Regions from separate parts of the Homo sapiens genome. Here region 1 is linked to region 2. The links are contacts of gene promoters, found by promoter capture Hi-C in blood cells and fetal thymus (Javierre and others, 2016). All regions are on one chromosome and are shown on one strand. Each heading gives the region's core, a stretch centred on a gene start or on the middle of the fragment in contact. The rest is flanking DNA. Distances are from core to core; before and after follow the strand shown. Region 1 overlaps TNFRSF8 (TNF receptor superfamily member 8). Region 2 holds the start of VPS13D (vacuolar protein sorting 13 homolog D).

Region 1 (3,234 bases), core at 623-3,122, 88 kb after region 2:
AGTAAACAGCAGCCTTCCCGGGCCTGCCTCCAGGCGGTAAGTCCACGAGTCTCCAGGCTGCCCGCAACTCCAAGACTCATCCTTATCCATCACTCATTTGCATACACGTCTGAAGGCCCTAGGGAGTCAGCTGGCCAGCCGACCGGAAGTCAGGGCCACTACTCCTTAGCGTGAAATGTGAAAAACCCAAAATCCTGATGAAACCTCCAAACGGTCTTGTTTCCTATGGTCCAGAGTAAAGCAGATGCCTGGGTGAGGCCGTGGTGCCTCTCGACATCCACACCCCAAAGCGTGCAGAGCCGGAACCAGGTGGTGGGGTCGGTGCTAGTGGATTTGCAAGCAGGGCAGACCTAAGGAAGATGCTTCTTCATTTCCCAGGACAGAGTGGGTGGGGCCCACAGAGAGCGGTCAAGGACTCCAGGCAGGGCCCGAAGTTCCCCATGTTCACATGGGGAGGAAGTCCCTGGGCAAAGTAAAGCAGGTTCTCTGGGTTGGTGAGGGGCGGTCTGCAGCTGCTGAGGGCTGCAGACATCTGGGACCCGAGGCGCCTGCTGTGGCGGGGATTGGTGGGGACATTCTGAGATGAGTGACTTGATCCTGGGCCCTAGGCCCTGGGCCCACCGAGGGGGCTACAGGACAGGGAAGGTGGGCAGCACCAGGAGGGTCCCACAGTCCAGGCAGGGGCCCTCACACCAGTGCAGAGTACAGTGTGGCCGCTGCAGCAGAGACAGTGCCAGCTGACGACGCCCCATCCCTCGACTTCCCTTTTGACTCTGGAGAAACAACCACAGGCACTGGCTCCATGCCCACTGGGGGCCACATTTACAGTAACTGGGGGCATGCCGGAAGGGCCCAATGGGTGTCACCTCTGAGGTCCAGGGAGAGAGGAGAGTAGGGTTACAGGGGCCCCGGGAGCTGGCCTCACGACCTCTCCCTCGCTGGGCTGTGGGCCTGGTGGTTAAGGTCTGATGCCCAGGGCTCTGGGACCAATGCTGTTCTCGGCAGTGCCCATCCTGCCATCTGTTTGCTGCCTCAACCAACATCACTGCTGGGATCCAGTCCCCTTGGACTGTCTCTTCTGTACAAGCCCCGGATCCCCTAGGCTCTGGGTCAGGGGACAGCTAAGTTGGGGATGCAAGCAGAGACCACCAGACCCCTGCAGTGACCGGCCGGTCCACCACTAGATGCTGGAGCCTCAGTTCAGGCCAGATGGGCCTCTGCCCCCAACCTCGGTGCCAACAGTGCCATCCTGGCCTCCCAGAGGCCACCCTGCTGCCCTCCTAGCCCCAGCCCAGCCCAGGCCTCACTTTCCAGAGGCAGCTGTGGGCAAGGGGTCTTCTTTCCCTTCCTCTTCCACTGAGAGCATGACATCGCTGCAGCTGCCCAGAGGCGGTTCTGTCTCCTGCTCGGGGTAGTGGGGGGTATGGTCCGCCTCCAGCTCCTCCTCCAACTCGGGCTCTGCTGGCCCCGCCAGGCCCCGGCCCTCCGGCAGCTCAGCCTTCACGGTCCCCACGATCACGGTGTCAGCCTTCATGATGTAGATTTTCTCTGCAAGGCAAAAGGATGGGTGAGCGAGGGAGGCCAGAGCACCAGCCAGGATGGGAGCAAAGAGGCAGAGAAGGGCCGAGGCCCAGTGCTGGTACACCTGCCGGGTGGCTTCAGGCTGATGGCACAGCCTCTCTGATGTACCTTACAGGCATCCTGGGGGCTCAGAGGAAATAGAACAGCTAGGAGCTGGGCCTTGAGGAGTTAAGAACCAGCCCACTTGTACTTAGGATTTTCTCAGCACATCTCTGCGGATGGGTAGGGAAGAAGAGGACAGGGTGGGACAGAAAGCAAACTGTGGACAAAAACAGGCAAAGCCGTGGGTAACCAGAGCACGAGCAGAAACAGCAGAGCTGAGCAGTTTCCACACCCCCACTCCTGGGTCCCCAGCCCTCCTGCAAGGCGGACCCCATCAAGATTCCCATTTACAGGTAAGAATCTGAAGCCTGGAGAGGTTAAATGACCTGCCCAAGGTCGCCACGTAGTTAGGAGAAATCCCCCAAAAAAAAACCACCCACTCCGCCTGGTGGCCCTTTCTGCTCCTATCTGTGTGCCTGCAGCCAAAACCCGGGGTGACCAACTTGTCCAGCTTGCCCGGGAACATTCCTGGTTCTACTACTGCAAGTCCCGTGTCCTGGGAGTCCCCTCGGTCCGGGCAAACTCAGCCAGCCTGTCACATCCTGCAGAAAACCCGGCCCCCTCAATAGGTCTCGGCAGCCCATGATTGAGACAGCCTGGCTCAGGCCGTGAATTTCGGGGCTTACTGCTCACAGCCGGTCTCCTGCCTGCAGCGTGCATGGCTGTGCTGTGAGCACATGGTGGGAGCTTGGACGGAGGGCCGGTCCTCGCCACAGTCTGATGTGGGGGCTTCTGGTGTGGCCTTCTGATAGAGGGGACATGGGGGCTCAGGTTCAGTGGCCCGAGGAGCTGGGGAGTGGGGAAGCCTGGCCTCCGCCCAGCTGATGGTGTCTGGCTCAGGGTGGGCTGGCTCCCAGCTGTTCTGCGCTGGACTCTGGAGGCCAGAATGGGGAAGCTCAAGAGGGAACTTGAGAGCTGGGGTGGGGTGGGGGTGCAGGGACCCCTGCCTTTCTGGGTAATGCAGTTATACCCCTCGGATTCAGGAACCCCAAAAAGGTTCTCGAGTCCCCCACACCCTCAACCCTATTGCATGACGCTGGTTCTTCTATTCTGGTTTTGAACACCCCCAGGAAAGAGAGAAGTGCGCCAAACGGCAGCAAGAGGAGAAGGCCCAGAGTGCGGGACAGGCTATGGGCTGGGCGCCCCCACAGACCCCAAAACAGAGCAGGGCCTCAGCACTCCCCACACCTCCATCAGGCTTGTGGGCTCCCAGCCCTAGGAGCCCTATAGAGGGCTGGGCAAAAGATGGGGGCCGGGGGTGGTGAGAGAGGAGACCCCAGGAGGGGAGAGAAGGCCCAGAGGGGGATGGGCAGAGAAGATGAGAGGCGGGTGGGGTCAGGTGGGAGGGAAGTGAGGGTGGGGGTGCTGGATTAGGGAGAAGGAGCCACAGCTGGGGACAGGCTGGTCCCCTCACATTCCTCAGGGAAATGGGCAGGAGTCCCCAGGAAATCTGGAATTAACTGGATTCAAAGCGGTGGAATTGGCTGCTCTGGGTGAGGAAGCAGCTCCCACTGAGCTCGGAAGTGAAAGAGGGGTCTGGAAACTTCAGAG
Region 2 (3,231 bases), core at 544-3,043:
AGAGACAGGGTTTCATCATGTTGGCCAGGCTGGTCTGAAATCCTGACCTTAAGCGATCTGCCCACTTTGGCCTCCCAAAGTGCTGGGATTACAGGCGTGAGCCACCGTGCCCGGCCACTATTATAACTTGAAAGGAGTAAATTTGTGAAAACCAAATGTGAAACTGACTAATCTTACTATGGGGACTCCAAACAAATTTGAGCAAGAAGCCAAGGTCAGAGTACTCTTTATTTTTGTAGTTATTGCCACTAATTTCGGCCCTAAATGCCAACTCTGAGTGCCAATTACCAATTATCTCCAAATCAAGGGAAACAACTGTCAGTTTGTAAACAAGTTCAGGCCCTACCCTACTTGCCCTAAACGGAAAAGAATGCAAAGCACAGATTTTAAAAGCATGAGTGATTAGCATTGTGAGGCAACCTGGTCAGTAACATTGAGGCCCAAACCAGAAAGCACCCATTATTTGCTCTGCTAAGCATCTAGACCGTGCTTGAGGCCACTTCAAGGATTCCCTGAAGGAATTCAGTGTCAGCAAGGGCCGCCAGACTGGCCAGAGTCCCAAAGTGTTTACACTCCGGTCCATCAGGACTTCTAGGCAGCTGCCTGGCACTGGCACTAACCCCCACCTGGGCTCCCCTACCCAGTGGGGCGGGTGACAGTAGGGATCAGTGCTGAGCCCACGGGCGGGCAGACAGCCGGGCATGACCTTGAGCCAGGCCCCTCCCCTGAGGAGCGGCCAGACCGGGAATAGGAAGGACTGGCAACCGGACCTGGGCGTCCCTCCCCGAGGCGGCCAGGGCTGAACGCTGCCGGCGCCAGGGAGCTCCAAAACCGGGGCGGGGACGGCTGTGCGACCGGTGGCCCCACAGGAACGGCACTGCCCGGAAGGCGACGCTCCCACAACCCTCCCGCCCCCAGCTCTCGGAACCCTCAGCCCCCTCCAGGGGACAGAGACCCCACCACCCAAGTAAAACCTGGAGGGAACGGCGCCGGGATCCCATACCTAGGAGGAGTGGCTGGGCCAGGGCGTGACCCTGGGGGGTAAAAGGTAAAGAGAGGTTTTAGGCCTGATGTCTGGCATCCCACACCTAGGAGGAGTGGCTGGGCCAGGGCGTGACCCTGGGGGGCAAAAGGTAAAGAGAGGTTTTAGGCCTGATGTCTCCACGCGAGAGTGTGACCTCGGGTGGCTGATTAAGGGAGGTGGCTAAGGCATTCTAGAGAACTGACACCCCACTCTTCGGCGTAATGTGGGGGGCTCGCACACTGGGGTCCTGCATTGAGACCAAGGCTCAGGCGGACAGGCGCGGACTGACACCCCCCAATTCCAGGGCGCCAGGCTGCTGGGACCCCGGAAAGTGTGCCGGGGTCCAGCGGGGGCTCGGGCTCCCCAGGACACGGACGTCGGGGTTCCCAGAGGTTCAGCCAGCCCCGAGCCTGTGCTTGGGGAGCTCGCGGGGACTCGGACGCAGGGGTCCCCGGAGGTGGCGGGCTTGGGGCCCGGGGGGAGCAGACGCCCAGGGTTACCCCGAGGGGCTCAGACCGAGGCCGGACGACGGGGCCCCCAGGCTCCTAGCATCGCTCTCCCCAGGGTGGGCCCGGGCCCCCATGTCCAGGCGGAGCCCTAGCGGCGGCCCGCGGGTCCGCGCCGGCCCTGCAGTTCCCGACCCTGGCCCCGCCCGGCACGGAGCCGCTCGGCCCCTACCTGTCGGTGTCCCGGGCCGCCCGCCCCAGCCCGGCGCTGCGCGGCGTTTCCTCCCCGCCGCTCCTCAATGGCGCAGGCCCGCGGCGCTCAGGCCGGCCCCGACCCGACCAATCGAGCGGCCGACGCGCCGGTGCCTGGCCAGCCGAGCGCCGAGTTATCGAGGAGGCGCCCCCTGGCGCCGGCGGCCGCTCCTGCAGTGGTGCGGGCCCCTCCAGGGTTCGCGGACACTGGGGCTTATTTTATAGGTGGGGAAATTGAGTCCCAGGGGAGGGCAGGGCCACAAATGACTCTGGTTCAGACAGCATGGGAACCCAGGATTCTTCCCACCTACAACCACCCTGCCTTCCATCCAAGCGAAAGGTGCGATTGGCCGTCCGTCTGGCCCACTCACCCACAGTCCGTTCCCCACTTCGCAGCCACAGGGGCCTGTTAATTCAGACCCTGCCCTTCCCTGCTTAAAACGGCGTCCCCACCGTACTTCAGTTAAAACCCACCTCCTTACAGAGCTGCCACCAAGGTCCCACTGGATCTGGTCCCTTCCCATTTCAGCCACTTTTTCCCCGGCCGACTCTGCCTCAGCATCCTTCAGTTTCTGCCCCAGGAACTGTACCTTTGCCGTTGTCTCTACCTAGGACCCTTCTCCTCAGACCAATAGAAACACAATGCCAGCCACATAGGCAATCCACATTTACTAGCTAGTACATTTTTTTTAAACGAAAAAGAAGAAAATGAACTTCATTTTAATATATTTAATCCAATATGTTCAAAATATGATCATCTCAACATGTCGCCAAAAGAAAAAATTACTAATACAATATGTTAACTTTTTTATAGTAAGTTTTTGAAATTCGGGTATATTTTACATTTACTGCGCATCTCAGTACAAACTAGCCAGAATTCCAGTGCTCAATACCCTCTTGTGGCCAATCCAGAGCTACAGAATAGCTCTGGATATTCGTATAGCTGACTCCCTCTGGCTTCAAATATTCCACTCAGAGAGGACTTGTGCCTATCTACGGTTCCATTATGAGCTGGGCACAGTGGCTCATGCCTGTAATCCCAGCACTTCAGGAGGCTGAGGCGGGCGGATCACTGAAGTCAGGAGTTTGAGACCAGCCTGGCCAACATAGTGAAACCCCATCTCTACTAAAACTACAAAAATTAGCCGGGCGTGGTAGTGCACACCTGTAGTCCCAGCTACTGGGGAAGCTGAGGCAGGAGAATCACTTGAACCCGGGAGGCGGAGGTTGCAGTCAGCCGAGATCACCCCTCTGCACTCCAGACAGAGTGAGACTCCCTCTCAAAAATGAAAATAAAAATAAAGTTCCATTATCCATTACCCTGTTGTATTTTATTCATGGAACCTAATACTCCCTGAGATTATCTTGTTTGTTTATACATATGTTGTTCTTTCCCCAGTACCTTGAAAACAGAGATTTTATCCCTTTCACAGTGTTTCTTCAACACCTAGACATTGCCTAGCACAGAAAAGACTCAATGAGTGTGTATGAATGAACAGCTGAACACTT

What was found. The method cuts DNA at HindIII sites, captures the fragments that hold promoters and counts their contacts. A CHiCAGO score of 5 or more calls a contact.
Region 1: a contact is called between a fragment that was not itself captured here and the fragment with the promoter of VPS13D in region 2, in 2 of 17 cell types (neutrophils and M1 macrophages). The highest score is 5.7, in neutrophils.

The regions. Positions count from the first base shown.
Region 1 is chr1:12,140,601-12,143,834 of GRCh38, reverse strand. TNFRSF8 (TNF receptor superfamily member 8) reads right to left here. Exons shown (of 15, transcript NM_001243.5): 15 at 1-1,548. The coding sequence ends at 1,304. Among named protein-coding and RNA genes, the nearest start is that of MIR7846, 25 kb to the left of the region's middle. The HindIII fragment of the contact is 4,003 bases long and covers 1-3,234 here.
Region 2 is chr1:12,228,592-12,231,822 of GRCh38, reverse strand. It overlaps VPS13D (vacuolar protein sorting 13 homolog D), which reads right to left and starts at 1,793. Exons shown (of 70, transcript NM_015378.4): 1 at 1,703-1,793. RefSeq lists silencers at 1,734-1,902, 1,439-1,968 and an enhancer at 1,114-2,044. The HindIII fragment of the contact is 6,412 bases long and covers 1-3,231 here.